Regions from separate parts of the Homo sapiens genome. Here regions 1, 2, 3, 5 and 6 are each linked to region 4. Evidence: promoter capture Hi-C in 16 types of primary human blood cells and fetal thymus (Javierre and others, 2016). All regions are on one chromosome and are shown on one strand. Each heading gives the region's core, a stretch centred on a gene start or on the middle of the fragment in contact. The rest is flanking DNA. Distances are from core to core; before and after follow the strand shown. Region 1 holds the start of RPS19BP1 (ribosomal protein S19 binding protein 1). Region 2 overlaps CACNA1I (calcium voltage-gated channel subunit alpha1 I). Region 3 overlaps CACNA1I (calcium voltage-gated channel subunit alpha1 I). Region 4 holds the start of ENTHD1 (ENTH domain containing 1). Region 5 has its middle 19 kb from the start of CACNA1I. Region 6 overlaps MIEF1 (mitochondrial elongation factor 1).

Region 1 (2,700 bases), core at 138-2,637, 360 kb after region 4:
CTCCACCCGTGTGACCTTCGCCTCTCTGTGTTTGTTTCCTCGTCTGTAAAATGCAAAAGACAATTCCTACCTGGAAGGGTAGGGGGGATAAACAAGTTAACAAATGTAAAGCACGTAGAACAGCACAAATGCTTGAGTTTGTGTTGGTTGTTATTATTACTCTCTAGCCGATGGAGCTTAAACGGTGTGGTCTATCCCGGAGGACGAACTCCAGGTCCCACACTCTGTGGTGTCAAGTACACAGAAGGCCCTCAGAACCCGGCTGAGTGAACCCAGTGGTCCCTTCTGATTCACCGTTCACTTATTGCGTGTCTTCTCCATGCCAGGTGCTGGGCTGCCAGCTGCAGATGGAGCAGCGAACAAGCCCAGGGCTCCTCCCCCAGGTAAGCAGTGTCACTTCTAGGCCAGAGGGGCTCAAATGTTTTGGTCTAAGAAGCTTCTTACATTTAAAACTTCAGAATCCCCTCACTCCTGTAATCCCAGCACTTTGGGAGGCTGAGGTGGGCGGATCACTTGAGGTCCGGAGTTCAAGACCAGCCTGGCCAACATGGCAAAACCCCGTCTCTACTAAAAATTTTTTAAAAAGAAAATTAGCCGGCCGTGGTGGCGGGCGTCTGTAATCTCAGTTACTCGGGAGGCTAAGGCAAAAGAATCGCTTGAACCCGGGAGGCGGAAGTTGCAGTGAGCCGAGATCGCTGCACTCCAGCCTGGGCGACAGAGCGAGATTCCGTCTCAAAAAAAAAATTAATTTAATTAAATAAAATAAATTTTAAAAAATTCAGGATCCCAAAGAACTTTTGTATGTAGGCAACTGATATTTGCCATACTAGAAACTAAAACAAAAATTTTACATATTCATTAATTCACTTAAAATGACAATAAACCCATTGCTTGGTAACATAAACAACGTATTTTATGAGAAATAATTGTAGTTTTCAAAACAAAGATATGTCTTTAATGTCTGGCTTAAGGGAAGACAACTGGATTCTCATGCTGCACTCAACCTGTGCGATACCTAGTGCTGGTTGAAGTATATGAAAAACACTCCGCCCTGTCCCCATCCTAGCCCGCCACGGAGCCACGAGACCCGAGAGGATTGGCCAACCCGGCGGAGCAGGTTGCGGACGGCTTCCGGGGAAGGAGGGGACTGAGCGCCAGGAGCCAGGTAGATTGGGATTGAGTAACACATGTGTCTTTCTGCGCCTTGGACCCGCCTCCAGTTTCCGCCCCTTCTTCCGCTCAAGTGTAAACCCCTAACGCATGCGTCCTAAGAAAGATGGGCACTTCCGCCCATCCCCCTCCGGATCCCTCTGTTCGGGCTCGGGTTTCCGCCGAGACGACAGGGACTGCCAGGTCGGAAGTAGTGTGAGGCTCGTGGGCGGAGCCAAGCGCCGCCATGTCCGCCGCCCTGCTGCGGCGGGGCCTGGAGCTGCTGGCGGCGTCCGAGGGTGAGGAGGGCTGGCCAGGGGACGTCCGGCGCGGGCAGGAGGATGGTAGTGGCTGCGGGCGGGAGCCCTGGATGGAAAACAATCCAGGCCGGGCTTAGCCCCAGTGGCATGGGAACGCTGCGCGCCCTCTGACCTGGGTCTCTTCCTCTCTCTTCCCCTACAGCCCCCCGGGACCCTCCAGGTCAGGCCAAGCCGAGAGGGGCTCCGGTGAAACGGCCCCGGAAGACGAAGGCAATTCAGGCCCAGAAACTGCGGAACTCGGCCAAGGGAAAGGTGCCCAAGTCGGCACTGGGTAAGTTCGGGAAGGGGCTGAAAGTGCTGCCTCCGGTGCTGGGACCTGCGCCCCAGAGGAGGTGGCGCTTGAGGCAGGGCTTGAAGCGTTCGCCCGGTATTGCTAGACCTACTGTGTGCCAGGCGCGGAGCGGGGCCCTGGACATACGAAGGTGACAGAACACGCCACCGTCCTGGTCCTCGTGGACTACGGCCCTAGTGGGGAGAGAAGCATCAAAGAATATCAAACCCAGTGTGTCATTGCTAAGTGCATTGAAGCCTATGAATTAAAAGACTACGGTACTCTGATGGGGACTTAGGCCAAGTCAGCCTTCTCTGAGGAAGCGACATTTCAGCCGAGAGCTGAAGGATGTATAAGAGTGAGCTAGGTGAAAAGTAGGAGAATATTCTAGGAAGAATAGTATGTGCAAAGGTCCTGAGTCAGAAAGGAGGTTGTTGCCTTTGAGAATTTGAAAAAATAAAGGCTGGTAAAGGTGACCTAGTGAATGAGGATCAAAGATGGAGCATTTAAACACATTCACTAACACTCTGTACCAGGTGCTGATTCTAAGTGCTGTACAAATGTAAGCTCGTTTGATCCTTACAGCAGCCCTTTGAGGTCGATACTACTATCACCCCCGTTTTACAGATTCAGAAAAAGGCACCTGCCCAGGTGGTACAGGCATTGTGGCTGCCCGGGCATTGTGTCTCCAGAGTGCTGCTATTACCTACTCCATTGAAATAGGACATGCTGTGGCCTGGGCAGTGGCTATAGCAGCAGAGATAACAAGAGAATTGTGCAGGTGGAAAATATGTTAAAGAGGGGGCAGCAGAGAATTTCAGCCTTTAGAGGGGTTTTAGTGGTGAATTGGCTGTGAAGGTGGAGCCTAGTTTCTTGGGGGACGTAGTGTCACTTAATAGACATAAAGACTTTCGGAGGGGCTGGTGTAGGCAAGATGGTGATATTTTGACATGTGTCAGG
Region 2 (2,700 bases), core at 86-2,585, 300 kb after region 4:
TCCTCCTGGCCCCAGCCCTGCTCCTTCCCGTCCCCTCACCCCACTGCCACTCTCCCGCCATAGCCTGTAATTAATTTCAGTCGCTGCCAGGGCCCCCTTCGAGCCTGAGCCTGGCTCCAGCAGCAGCTTCATCATTAATTAACTTTTTTGAAGTTCGAACATTCTAATTACCAAAGAACATCCCCCATCCCCCTCGCCTTTCCCCTCTTCCTGTCGTGCGCTCTCTCCTTCCAGCCCCATCCTCTGCTCCCTCTGCCCCTCCTGCCAGTTTCAGGCTCAAAGTGCACTTAGTGGCGTCTCCCAGGAGCCCGGTGCCCCTGCTGCCTCCTCAACAAGGCCCTGAGCAGTGGAGGTCAGCAGGCCCATTTTACAGATAAGGAAGGCTGAGACATGGGGAAATCAGGGGCCTCTCCTGGGTTTCACAGCTAGGAATTACTGGCACAGAGATTCACACCAGGCCTGCTGGACTCCAAGGCCAGCGCTCTCCTCTGTGAAGTACGGCCTGTCTCTGCCCATGGCTCTCCTCCCTCCCCTGAGGCCTCTCAGCCCATCTTCAGTGTGTCTCCCCAGGACCCTGACCCAGCATCCTCGGTATCCCCCAGCTCTGGTCTCTGCCCCTCCAATCTGCCCCACACGATAACCAGGCACTTGCTGTGTGCCCAACACAACTTGAACATTTTCCAAATGTTATCTCATTTAATCCTCACAGCTCTTTTATAAGCCCCATTTACAAATAAGGAAACCAAGACACAAAAGGGAAACAGATTGGCCCAAGGTCACCAGCTGGAAAAGAGCAGAGCTGAGACACAAAACCTCAGGCTGGAGGCTTTTCCTGCCTCCAAGCTGTTTTGCCACTGCCAGGCTAATCTGCCTGAAACACACTCTCCAGATGCCTCTCTCCTGCTCAAGAACCTCCCATGGCTCCCCATCACCCTCCCAAGCCTGGTACGCAAGGTAGACTCTCGCCTCAGTGAATCCTTGCAGTCTTATCACTCACTGGCCTCAGCACTCGCTTTCTCCAAACACGCCTTCTGCCTACACTTTCCCTTTCCTCCACCTCTCCAGCAGGCAGACTGTTTCAGAGCCCAGTTCGCAGGTCACCTCTTCTTGAAGCTTCCCCGGATGTGCCTCTTGCCCCTCACAAGGTGGTGGCTCAGCCTCCTCTCCAGAAGCACTCCCACCTGCCCTGGCTAGCACGTACCACAGTGATGAATTTGGCAGTACCTCTGACGACTGTGTACCAGACACCCTAGGGACATGACCTCAGCTCTCACAATCCCCTGGGGATGGAAAAGGAACAAGCCTGGAGAGCTGACACCACTCACACAAGGTCACCCAGTCCCCGAGCAGCCCAGATTGTCTGATTCACAGCAGTGCTGGTGGCCGCTGCACAGCACTGCCTCTGTGGCCCATCTAACTCGCCCACTGCACTGGGTCCCCGCAGGAGGCAGATGGAGTGGCTTTCATCCCTGGGCTGCTCAGCTTCAGAAATTCAGCAATGGATGGTCTCAGCCCTTGCCCAGAGGTGCCCGGGGAAATCCCAGATGGCAAAGCTTGGGCCCCTTCCAAGAGCCCAGGAGGCTTAGAAGTCAGGCCAGAACTGGCATCACTGCCCGCGGTTCCTGACACACTCCCCACTGGCTCAGGGATCAAAAGCACCAGCCCTCCTTGAAGTTAAACCAGACAGTGCAGTGTGGGGTAGGAGGGTGGCGGGGGGAGTCAAGGTCTCCGGCTTGAGCCACTCTGCAGCCTGGCCTGACGCCTCATGCTTCCACCATGAGTCACAAGTGTTGAGGAACTCTCTGAGAACACAGGCAAGCGAAGCCGTGAGGTTCGGGGACAACCTGAGGGAAGCTGGAGACCCAAGGGGGAGCACAGGATTTCTGGGTGACAGAGGGGGCAGGGCTGGAGTGCTAGTGCCACGACGGCAGGACGTCTTCAATGGCTCCCAACTGCCTCTCACAGCGAGGCTTGAAGCCCTGCGACGGGCATCCAAGGCCCAGCTGCCTCGCCTACTTCACCCCTCAGGCCCTCACTGCAGTCGGGGTGACCTTTGCCACAGAGCAGCCCTGCCAGCGTCGTTAGAGAGCAACGGCTCCAATCCCTCATTGCACTGATGGAAAACAGGGGCAGAAATCTGTCCCAGCTCCACAGCAAGCCCAGAGCTGAAGTGACACTTAGACAACAGACTCACCACCCACGGGGGTCCCCAAGCCACAGTCGATTTTTCAAACTCACACGGAAACCCTCCGCGTTTCCCCACACACTCGGCACAGCCACAGTACCATCACTTTAAGCTGGTTAGATCCCTGACGGGCAGCCCTGAGCGCCTTTGAGGAACACAGATGGAGAAACAGATCAATGGTGATGCAATCAATCGAGTTTCCTTGGCAGGCAAAGCCGTCCCAAGCACACAGGCCTCGGGGAGAAAATCACTCAGGGTCTTTGGGTGCTGCTGCAGAGCCCCCCAGCGCCTCAGCACAGCCTGGGCCCTCAGCCCCACTTCCTACCCACGTCCCCGCACCACACCTCTCAAAGTCTTCAGAACTGGGGTCTCAGAGCTGAGCAGGGGGAATGAATGTGCTTATATTGTGTGCCTGTTGTGTGCCAGGCGCCAGCCTGCCGGTGGTAATAATGGTGACAATCGCGAACACTTCTTCAGTGCCCCTGAGTGTCTGTTTGCCAAGGAGCCTCCAAATC
Region 3 (2,700 bases), core at 47-2,546, 280 kb after region 4:
TCGGGAGCGTTACCCTCTGCTGACCAGGTAGGTGGAAGGCACAGCGCCCACCACAGCACTAGGACCAGGGCCAGCATCCTCCAAGGCAGTGCTACCCGATGGTCAGAGTACAGAGCTGGGTTCCAATCCCAGCTCGCTGCTTGTGTCCCATGTGACTTTGGGCAAGTCACTGACCTGAAACATGTTCATATACAGATCCAGTACTCAGAACAGGGCCTCACACAAGGAACAGCCAAGAAATGTGAGCTATTATTGTATCGCAGCCTCAACTGTTACCTCAGCTCACACGCGCCCACGAATCACATGAGGCCCTCTCCAGACCCCACCCCCAGGCAGAGATGAGCTCTTCTGCCTGGTGTCCCACTGATCCTCTATGAGGGCACCTCTGGGCACCTGTCCCTGTTCCTCAGAGCAGGGGTTGGCTCAGAGCCCCTGCTGGGTCCCCAGTGCCCAGCCCAGGTTCTGACTTAGAGGTGGATTCCCTGTGTGAGTTTGTCAAACAAATAATTTGAGGGACAAGATCAGAAAAAAAGAAGAAAGAAAAAAAAAGCTTGGAGCTGACAAGAAGCCACAAGAAATGACTGAGATTTAACATCTTTCCAGGAAATACCCCGCCCAGGAGATGATTTCTGTGTGTGGCTGATAAAAATAGGGTGTTTCCTCAATCTTCACAAGGGGCCCACGGGGGCTTTCTTAAAATGTGATTTAAGATGTAGCTAATGGAAGGGAAGCTGAGATGCTGGAAATCACAGATCATCTGTCAGGAGGCAGCTCTGTGATGACTCAGGCTTGTGTTGGTTGGTAACTAGACCACCAGCCATTGCCAATATCCGGGGACCTAGCACACAGTAGGTGTTCTGTGGAGGGATGGAGGGAAGGAGGGAGAGAAGGAGGAAGGAAATAATAGAGAGGATTTGGGAGTAATGACATTAACCCTTGACTGTGGCCAGCACCTCATGATTTATGGGTCATTTCACCCATTGCTATGGTCTGAATATTTATATCCACTTAAAATTCATACATTGAAATTCTATCCCCCAAGGTGATGGTATTAGGGCCTTTGGGGAGGTGATTAGATCATGAAGGCAGGGCCCTCAAGAATGAGATTAGCACCTTTTTAAAACAGGCAAAGGGAAACTCATCTGCCCCTTCACGTGAGGACTCAAGTGAGGACTCAATGAGAAGACTCATCTATGAGGAAGTGGCCCCCACCAGACATTGAATCTGCCAGCACCTTGATCTTGGACTTCCCAACCTCCAGAACTGTGAGAACTAGATTTCTGTTGTTTATGAGGCACCCGGTTTATGGTATTTTGTTAGAGCACCCCAAACAGACTAAGATACCTGTCTTAGTCCATTTTCTGCTGCTATAACAGAAGCAGAAAGACTGGATGATTTATTTTTAAAAAAGAAATTAATTTGGTTTACGATTCTGGAGGCTGGGAAGTCCAACATCAAGGAGCTGCATCTGGCGAGGACTTTCTTGCTGTGTCATCACGTGGCAGAAGGGCAAGAAAGTGTGTGTGAGACAGGGAAGGGGCCAAACTCATCCCTCTCATCAGGAACCCACTCCCACGATAACCATCCCACTCCCACAATAATGGCATTAATCCATCCACGAGGGCTGAGTCCTCATGACCTGGTCACTTCTTAAAGGTCCCACCTCTCAACTCTGTTGCACTTGGCATTAGGTTGCCAACACATGAACTATGGGAGACACATTCAAACAACAGCAACACTCGCAGTTCCTCACACAAACCTATGAGGCCAAAGAACAGAGGTTATTAAGCCCAGTTGACTGACGCTCTGAAACCAACTCAGGCCAAGCTCAGAGTACAGGGGGGATTTGGGGGAAGAATGCTGGGTTGGCCACAAAGCTGAGGGATGGGCTGCAAAGACAGAACCCAGGCAGGTGGGAACCAGGGCAGCTCTGGGAACCTCAGTGGCAGAAGACCTGGACCTTCTCTCTCCAAGCCTCCATTTGGGTTACTTTACTCCAGTGGTTTATTTCTGGGTAGAGTTGCCAGATAAATAGAAGCTTCCCAGTTAAATCTGAGCTTCAGATAAACAATGAATAATTTTAGTGTATGCCTCATGATGTCTGCCTCCCGTGAAACTTAGCTCCATTACTCCAGAGTAGTCTTGGCAGCACGGCAGGTGAGAATGGCTGCTGGGAACCAGAGAGTGGGCTCTGTGTGGTGCAGAGATGCTTTTGGCTCTAACCAGAGCCTGGGGGAAATGTTCCTCTCAGGGGACTCACCTCACTGCTTTCTGAGGGCTAGTGAGGCAAATCAACGGCTTATATTTCAGCCTCTGGAAATGTACAACCCCTTCATGTCATGGGTGAGCACGAGCCCTGGGGGCAGCCAGACCTGAGCAATCCCAGATCTGATCCATAAAGGCTGAGTGTGTCCTGAGGCAGGCTACCAATCTCTCTGACACTCCATTTTCTCATCTGCAAAATGGTGTTAACAATACTAATTTCTGGGGATTGTCAGGATGTAACACCATCATGGGTGTAAAAAAGCCCAACTCAGTCAGTTAATGATAGTTCATGGTAGGCCACCTAAACGGCTTGGTTTCCACCAGCCAGGGCGCCCTTGTGAACTCCAGGAGTAACAAGGCCTGGCCTGGGATCCTCCCTGTCCAGCATCCCTTTCCAGCCTCCCTGACCAGCCTCCCCACCCTCAGCCACGTGAT
Region 4 (2,700 bases), core at 8-2,507:
TCAGCTTTCATGCCTTTACACATGATGTGTCCTTTGCCTCTTACGTCCTCCTCTACTTTGTCTATCCAGTGAACTCCCTGTCATCCTTTAAGATTCAATTCAGATGTAAACTCTTCTGTGAAACCTGCCCTTAAATACTCAGTGGCAGAATTAGATGATCTCTTCTCTCTTACTATGCCATACATATCTTGTTACAATCTTCTCTGACGGTGCCTGTCACCTCCACTAGCCTGTAAACGTATCCAGCAGAGGGCTGCTTTTTATCTCCGAGTCCTTACTGTCTGGCACAAAGTGGGTGCTCACGGAAAATCAGTTGAATACATCAACAATTACCCGTCAGTGGCACCTGAAGCCATCAGTCACTGGAGCTACCCCATCATTGTCCATCACACACACTGCTCTTCATAGACTACTATTACATTCTCAGTCCTTTGAGGTGGCAATCACGTGCTGGTGGTATTTCTAGTCAGTTGAAATGACAGTAGTAACACACTTTTAAAAATGTATTCATGTGCCATGCTGGTGCGCTGCACCCACTAACTCGTCATCTAGCATTAGGTATATCTCCCAATGCTATCCCTCCCCCCTCCCCCCACCCCACAACAGTCCCCAGAGTGTGATGTTCCCCTTCCTGTGTCCATGTGTTCTCATTGTTCAATTCCCACCTATGAGTGAGAATATGCGGTGTTTGGTTTTTTGTTCTTGCGATAGTTTACTGAGAATGATGATTTCCAATTTCATCCATGTCCTTAAAACTTAAATAATAATAAATAAAAAAAAAGAGATATTATGCTAGAAGTCTGAGTATTTTACTGATTTTCCATTTTAAGAATAAATTATCATGGCAAATTTTAAGTTACATACATTATTTTATTGTCTACTTTTTAAAAACATTATCAGCTTACCTTGGCATTTTTTTTCTTTTTTTAATGTCCGTTTTTACGTTGTGAACATTTAGTAAATTAATTTATACTCATTTTTATTTAATTAAGAAAGCAGCTAAGAATAAATGCTAGTGTCTGATTAAACTATTTCCCAGATCTCAAAAAAAAAAAAAAATTTATTCTTTGAAAGGAGGATTAGGGCAGTGTCACAGCCCGGCAGCCTGTGAAACGAAGACACTTACCTTCATTCCCCTTGGTACCCTCCAGCTCAGGTATCTGCAACCATCTTGCTTGACGCCCTGACAGGAACTGCACCAGGCCAGAAAGTGAGGAAGCGGAAGTGGGGACCGGCCTGGGCCCTTGAGCCTGGCTGGAGTAGGTGGAATATCCTGGGGAGAGGAAGTTTGGTCGTTGGGCAGCGGCCGACTTTCCTCTCAGGTAACAGCCTCTGCTTGGGAGTGGTGGTGGGGCTCAAGGCGGGTCTGGAAACATCGGTTGCCTTCCCTCCTCCCGTTTCTTGCCGGCACCGTCGGAGTCCAGGTGGGGGCGGGAGGGCGGCGAGGCCATTACCATCCGCAGGAGGTGAAATCCCTGTGGCGTGACGTGACGCCATCACGTCCCTCTCTCCTTCTAGAGGCTTTCCTGAGGTCCAGCCTTCCCCTCCACTGCCGGTTCTCCTAGGGTAATTGCTGGTCTGATTCTCTGTGTGGCCGAACGCCCAGCACCTGGCTCATCTGGTACACAGTCGTCATCTGAAGTGGGGGTTGTATGAATGAAGACGAGGATGCCGAGGAAAGGCCCTGCCCACAGAAAGTTGATTCTTGCTCAGCCTCCACCCGCCATTTTCAAAATTCTTTCCAAAGCATCTCGTTTCTTCCTCCCCCACGGCCCTGTCTGGCGATTATTCTTTGTGTTGCGGATGAGGGAACTGAGACTTAGAGAAGTTGTTAAGTCTTAGTTAGGAAATGGCAAAGCAGGACCTCAAATCATGGCTTTGAATCCTAATTAAAGGAGAGAGATGAGGCATGTGAAGGCCCAGGTGTGAGCACATTGTGAGCGTTCAATGAAGAGTAGCTGTTTACTCCAGGGTGTGAGGACTGTGTCTTGTGCACCTGTTTCTCCATTTCCTAGAATGGAGCCTGCCACATGGTAAGCTCTGGAAGATTATTAGTTGAATAAATTAATGAACACACACTTAGGGCTGGAAAAGATTAGATTCTCTGCCTCTGACAGTATTCTTTTCATCAAAACAGTAACACCTCCTAATGGCATGGTAGTCTCTATAACCATTTTCCCGTAGCATTCTTGGCCAGAGCTCATTTCCTTACGAGTCAAACTCATGTCTATAGGCAGAACCTGTACAAACACAAGAGCTGTTCTTTTCTCATAGTTCCACCTTAAATGCATCTTTTCAGAGATAGCTCTGGACACTCAGCCTCTTAGATGCTATTGTCATTATTGTCCCAAGTCTTTGGATAAAGTCAGTTCAGCTCCTCTGTTCCTTATTCTCAATCCTGAAATCCAAAAACTTTTGGAAATCAACTTTTCCTCCAACTCATTTGGTGGTAAAACTTGGCCTGAGGCCATTTGTAGTCTTTATTCCAAATATTTACATGTTTTTATTGCAGACATGTTAATGTGTTTAATTGTTCAGAGCAGCTCCACACCTTACTGTGGGTATCATGTAATATATGGTATAGACATGGCACTACTCTTGAAAATTCCACCCCTACCACCGCACCCAAAAGAGAATTTCCACAAATCATCTGGCCTCAAAGGATTGGGATAAAAGATCGTGGACCAATAGTTTAATGCC
Region 5 (2,700 bases), core at 20-2,519, 340 kb after region 4:
TGGAAGTGCTGACTGTGGGTAAAACAGGGAGGAGATTTGGAATGAGACCCTAGGGAGGATGGGCCAGACGCTGGGCTTCCCATATGTGATGGGGCAGGCTGAACCCCAGCACCTGTGGGCACCTTGATGGGTTTGAAGAGGCCAAGATGGACCCAGAGCCCAGTCTGGAAGGTAGTGGCTGGATTGTTCTGCAACATAAAGAGAGAAGAATCAGAAGGTCCAGAGAGAAAAGAGTGGAGAGGGAAGGGAGAGGAGAGAAGAGATTGCAAGATGGAGGAGACCAGGGACACGCAGAGGGGGACGCACCTGGGGGGATCCCCCAGAAGCGGGGGGACTTCGATTTGAAGTGGTTTGCATGGCTGCAGTGTCAGTGTCCCTCCCCTGCCAAGTCCCCAGGAACATCTGCTGGACCCACAGGGGTACTCAGTGTGTGGATATCAAGAAAGGAGCCGAGCTCCCCCTCAGTGCTGACATGAACAAGAACAGCCCTGGGCATGTCACCCAGTCCATCCCCAACTGCACTAAGCCAGCAGAAGCAAAAGGTCAAAGCCAGAGGGGTCCAGGAGAACACTGGCAGCCCCCCAAGATTGCTGCATCCCTAGGAATCTGGGCAGGAAGTGTGGGGGTGGAGCTGGCTTATGTAGCTGAGAAGCAGGGAGCCCCTGGGCCCGGCTGCAGGTGTCCACTTCTTCTATCAGCCCACTTAACCCCCAGCAGTCCTAGGTGACAGGGATCATGCAGCTCCACTTACACTCGGGAGAACCAGAATCCGGAGAAATTAAGTAAATTGCCCAGAGTCACACAGCTAATAAGTAGCATAAACAGGATTCTATGCCAGAGTGCATGTGTGTGCGCATGTGTGTGTGTGTGAGAGAGAGAGAGAGAGAATCTATCTCTGCCCAGGACAAAAGCCTATCTATCTGCCCAGGACAAAAGCCTGGAGTGGGGGCAGAGCATAGCTGGGGACAGACCCCAGGAACCTCAAGTTCCTGCCAGGTCGGAGGTCCCTGACTCTCAACCAAAACAGGTAGCTGATGCCTGAGGAGCTTCCTGGACAGGGCTCAGAGAATCCAGTCTCTACTAACAATACAGAAATTAGCCGGGCGTGGCAGCATGCGCCTGTAATCCTAGCTACTCGGGAGGCTGAGGCAGGAGAATTGCTTGAGCCCAGGAGGCAGAGTTTGCAGTGAGCCAAGATCGCGCCACTATACTCCAGCCTGGGCAATAGAGCGAGACTCCATGTCAAAAAAGGAAAAAAGAAAGAAATTGAGTTCAAGAGAGCTGGTGTGACAACAGTTACACGCCAGGCCATCACTCAGTGATGTTTATTGACCACCTACTAAGTGCCACGTGTCAGGTATACAGAAACAGATGAACCCCAGCCCTGTGGGGAGAAGCCACATCTGGACAACCTGGATTTAAGCTCGGAAGAAAGGAGCTGGGAGCCCCCAGGAGGAAACGATATTTTCTGGGGTCAGACCAGGAGGGCCAAAGAAGGCTCCACAAAGGGAGAGACAGTGAAGGCCTAGAAGGGACAACAGGCAGTGGGCAGATCTGAGTTTTCCTAGCCAAGTATTGGAGGAAGGGCATCTCAAGCCAAGGGACAGCAGGAGCAAAGGCCCGGAGAGCATCAGGTTAAAAAAGACATGGGGGTCTGGGCGCAGTGGCTCACCCCTGTAATCCCAGCACTTTGGGAGGCTGAGGCAGGTGGATCATCTGAGGTCAGGAGTTCGAGACCAGCCTGGCCAGCTTGGTGAAACCCCGCCTCTACTAAAAATACAAAAATTAGTCAGGCAGGGTGGCAGGCGCCTGTAATCCCAGCTACTCGGGAGGCTGAGGCAGGAGAATCTCTTGAACCCAGGAGGCGGCAACCTAGGTTGCAGTAAGCTGAGATCATGCCATTGCACTCTAGCCTGGGCGACAGAGCAAGACTATCTCAAAAAAAAAAAAAAAAGAAAGAAAGAAAGAAAAGAAAATGACACTGGGGAAGAGGTGGAAGAGGGACCGGAAAGCCCAGCTTAGGAGCGACGGAGCCAGAGAGGAGAGTGGACGATGAAAAGAGGAAAAATCACCTTGAGGTGCAGGGGGTGGGGACCCTCTGCCCCTGCTGGCTTCTGTCCACCTCTGTCTCTGTCTCTTTGGGCGTCTCTCTCCTGCTTCCTGTTTCCCTTGCCTGGCTCCCTTCCTCCTTGGCGTTTCTCTGTCTTACCCTTTCTCTGGCTCTCTCCATGCCCCTCTGTCTCTCTGTCTCCCTAACTCTTCCTGTCTGTCTCTTGCTCTCCCGTCTCCCCGCTGTGTGTGTGTATGTACATCTCTCACGCACGTGTGCCCTCACACTCTTCCTTTCTGCCACTCCTGCTGCTTGGAGATAGAATAATAGAGCAGGCAACTATCCCTTTTATCCTCAGCTGGACAAAGTCCCGGCACCCGGGCAGTCAGGCTTCCAGGCAAACACCCTCAATGTCGCCATCAAGGAGAGACCATGAGGCCTGTGTGGTGGGAGTGGGTCTCAGGCTGGAGGCGCTGTAGTTGGCCAGGTCATTACTGTAAGCCTGGGCCCTGCCCTGTGGTCTTTCAAGCCCTGATGGCTTAGGATGGGCATTTGAGGGAGCAGGCAAGCTTTGCCCAGAGGCAGAAGAGGCAGCCTCAGCCTCCCGTGGCACTTGAATTCCACCGTCAGGGCTACAGTGCTTTCTTGCA
Region 6 (2,700 bases), core at 67-2,566, 390 kb after region 4:
GCCAGCTTGTTAAGCCTTTTCGGCCGGGTACGGTGGCTCACGCCTGTAATCCCAACACTTTGGGAGGCCAAGGTGGGCAGATCACGAGGTCAGGAGATCGAGACCATCCTGGCTAACACGGTGAACCTCTGTCTCTACTAAAAACACAAAAAATTAGCCAGGTGTGGTGGCAGGCGCCTGTAGTCCCAGCTACTCGGGAGGCCGAGGCAGGAGAATCGCTTGAAGTCGGGAGGCAGAGGTTGCAGTGAGCCAAGATTGCACCCACTGCACTCCAGCCTGGGTGACAGAGCAAGACTCCATCTCAAGAAAAAAAGGCTTTTCCTACTGTAGTGCAATAGGCACCCCCCGCCCACCATCCAAGGACGGACTGACATCACAGACCTGGTGACCTGGAACAGAAGACGGCATCCACAAGCTCAACAGACAGACACGGACCTTACTTGAAAAGTTAATTCAACTTGTTCCAGTTTAAACTGCTTCTCCATGACACGCTCTCCACTCAGGTTCTGCTGCATAAGCTTACAGCCTACTAGCAGGTAAGAACTCCACCTCCAATCGGGACTGTCATGAAGGAACCCCATTGCTTAATGGGTACAGAGTTTCAGATGTGCCAGATGAAAAGGGTTCTGGGGCTCTGTTACCCAACAATGTGAATATACTTACTACTACTGAACTGTACACTTTAAAATGGTTAAGATGGTTAAAATAAAAAACAAAGAAGGAACACAGACCTGGTGGGCAGAACTAGGGATGGAGAATTTCAGCTCTGCCAATATTTCAGGCAAGTTATTTAACCTGTCTCGCTAGATACAAAAATGGGAACAGAAATGCTCATCACCCTAATATAGTTAAGGATGATGAATAATGGAGGCCTTGCGGCTTCCTAGGATGACAGCACAGAAGTGTGAAAGTTCCAACTTATTTTAATTGAAAAAGCCATAGGCCTTTTTATAAACCTATCTTGCTTGAGTATGTACGAGACTAGGTAGCAGATATTGAGTGTGTATTATGTGCTGGCAATTTTACACTTATTATTAATTCCCTCAATCCTCACAACAACAATCCCATGAGATCAGTAATATTATCCCAAATTTAAAGGATGAAGAAACTGAGTAGTTTCTGTAACTGACCCAAGGTCACTGTGTCAGTAAAGTATGTGACCAAGATTTGAACCCTGAGATCACGCGGTGCGGAGAACTAATCTACAGGGGTCCTAGGTACTTGCTCCACACCTTGTTCCCATCTCCACTCCATTAACCCCCAGACCATATGCTTCTGGGGGACATTTGGGCTCATTCACTGCTGCATCCCCAGGGTGTGCAGTGTTTGATGCATAGGGAGTATATGTTGTGGGAATGAAGTATTAACTCTACGGCGTTTTGTTTCTTGGTTTTTTTGAGGGGGTAGTGATAGCAGCGTGTAGCCCAACTCACAGCCAAAATATATTAGGAACACAAAGATTTCAAGGAACGCCCTAATTCCCTCCTAGATCCGCTAGCCAACCCTCCCTGTGCAGACAGGCTCCCATGGGCATCACCCCACCCCTGGCCCTGTACTGCCAAAGGCAGATATGCCAATCCTAAGTGGCTGAGAAGAACCAAAAGTCATTACATAAGGCTCTCTTCCTACTTTCCCTCCCCCAGTTAAAAGCAGCACCCTCCACCCAGCTGGCAGGCCTTACACCCAGTTACTCTTCATCTTTCTCTCTCCTCCTCCTGCCTCAGCCAACTGATCACCAAGTCCCACTGCTGTACACACTGTGTTTATATGTGGCCACCCCCACCCCTCGGTCCCTCAATCTGATCTGGCTACATCCACTGCCTCTAGTATCTCTCATCAATTTATTCTTCACACTGCCACTGGTATGCTCCCTCTACGATACAAATGTGGCTATGTCATTCCTCTGTTTACAGAGCTGTGATGGTCCCCACATAAGAAGATATACATTACAATCTCAACTTGGAGTCAACGTCCTTCCAGACCAGGCCCAGCCTCAACTCTGGCTATTTGCCTTACAGGGGTACCATGCTGGCCACATCAGACTTAAGTTTCCAGACTACAAAGTGCAGTTTCTGGACAGGCAGAGCTGTTTGAACCTATAATCCCAAAGCTTTGGGAGGCAAGGGTGGGAGGATCGCTTGAGGCTAAGAGTTTGAAAGCAGCCTGGGCAACATAGCAAGACCGTCTCTACAAAAAAAATAAATAAATAAAAAATTAGCTGAGCACATTGGTACATGCCTGGCGTCCCAGCTACTCAGGAGGCTGAGAAGGGAGGACTGCTTGAGGCCAGGCATTCAAGGTTCCAGAGAGCTATGATCATGCCACTGTACTCCAGGTTGGGCGAGAGCGAGACCCCGTCTCTTTTTTTTTTGGAGACGGAGTGTCACTCTGTCACCCAGGCTGGAGTGCAGTGGCGCGATCTTGGTTCACTGCAACCTCCACGTGCCGGGTTCAAGCAATTCTCCTGCCTCAGCCTCCTGAGTAGCTGGGACTTAAGGCATGCGCCACCATGCCCGCCTAATTTTTTGTATTTTTGGTAGAGACAGGGTTTCACCATGCTGACCAGGCTGGTCTCGAACTCCTGACCTTGTGATCCTCCTGCCTTGGCCTCCTAAAGTGGTGGGATTACAGGCGTGAGCCACCGCACCGGGCCAACCCTGTCTCTTAAAAAAGAAAATTGCAGTTCCCACTCCAGGCATT

Evidence for each region. The method cuts DNA at HindIII sites, captures the fragments that hold promoters and counts their contacts. A CHiCAGO score of 5 or more calls a contact.
Region 1: the fragment with the promoter of RPS19BP1 here is called in contact with the fragment with the promoter of ENTHD1 in region 4 in 1 of 17 cell types (naive CD4 T cells); the score reaches 5.2 in naive CD4 T cells.
Region 2: a fragment that was not itself captured here is called in contact with the fragment with the promoter of ENTHD1 in region 4 in 1 of 17 cell types (megakaryocytes); the score reaches 5.2 in megakaryocytes.
Region 3: a fragment that was not itself captured here is called in contact with the fragment with the promoter of ENTHD1 in region 4 in 7 of 17 cell types (activated CD4 T cells, naive CD4 T cells, non-activated CD4 T cells and 4 more); the score reaches 16.3 in activated CD4 T cells.
Region 5: a fragment that was not itself captured here is called in contact with the fragment with the promoter of ENTHD1 in region 4 in 8 of 17 cell types (naive CD4 T cells, activated CD4 T cells, erythroblasts and 5 more); the score reaches 7.6 in naive CD4 T cells.
Region 6: a fragment that was not itself captured here is called in contact with the fragment with the promoter of ENTHD1 in region 4 in 1 of 17 cell types (activated CD4 T cells); the score reaches 5.4 in activated CD4 T cells.

The regions. Positions count from the first base shown.
Region 1 is chr22:39,531,435-39,534,134 of GRCh38, reverse strand. RPS19BP1 (ribosomal protein S19 binding protein 1) reads left to right here and starts at 1,387. Exons shown (of 4, transcript NM_194326.4): 1 at 1,387-1,448; 2 at 1,612-1,740. The coding sequence starts at 1,397. RefSeq lists enhancers at 1,193-1,242, 1,293-1,352, 1,142-1,657, 1,658-2,173 and silencers at 1,463-1,622, 1,803-1,932. The HindIII fragment of the contact is 8,920 bases long and covers 439-2,700 here.
Region 2 is chr22:39,591,873-39,594,572 of GRCh38, reverse strand. All of the region lies in intron 1 of CACNA1I (calcium voltage-gated channel subunit alpha1 I), which reads right to left. Among named protein-coding and RNA genes, the nearest start is that of CACNA1I, 22 kb to the right of the region's middle. RefSeq lists an enhancer at 1,856-2,700. The HindIII fragment of the contact is 440 bases long and covers 1,116-1,555 here.
Region 3 is chr22:39,611,027-39,613,726 of GRCh38, reverse strand. All of the region lies in intron 3 of CACNA1I (calcium voltage-gated channel subunit alpha1 I), which reads right to left. Among named protein-coding and RNA genes, the nearest start is that of CACNA1I, 42 kb to the right of the region's middle. The HindIII fragment of the contact is 1,488 bases long and covers 553-2,040 here.
Region 4 is chr22:39,892,317-39,895,016 of GRCh38, reverse strand. ENTHD1 (ENTH domain containing 1) reads left to right here and starts at 1,257. Exons shown (of 7, transcript NM_152512.4): 1 at 1,257-1,322. It also overlaps a transcript of GRAP2 not described here. The HindIII fragment of the contact is 18,515 bases long and covers 1-2,700 here.
Region 5 is chr22:39,550,440-39,553,139 of GRCh38, reverse strand. No RefSeq gene overlaps it. Among named protein-coding and RNA genes, the nearest start is that of CACNA1I, 19 kb to the left of the region's middle. The HindIII fragment of the contact is 2,704 bases long and covers 1-2,621 here.
Region 6 is chr22:39,504,866-39,507,565 of GRCh38, reverse strand. The region is part of intron 2 of MIEF1 (mitochondrial elongation factor 1); the gene reads right to left. Among named protein-coding and RNA genes, the nearest start is that of MIURF, 2.0 kb to the right of the region's middle. The HindIII fragment of the contact is 1,592 bases long and covers 521-2,112 here.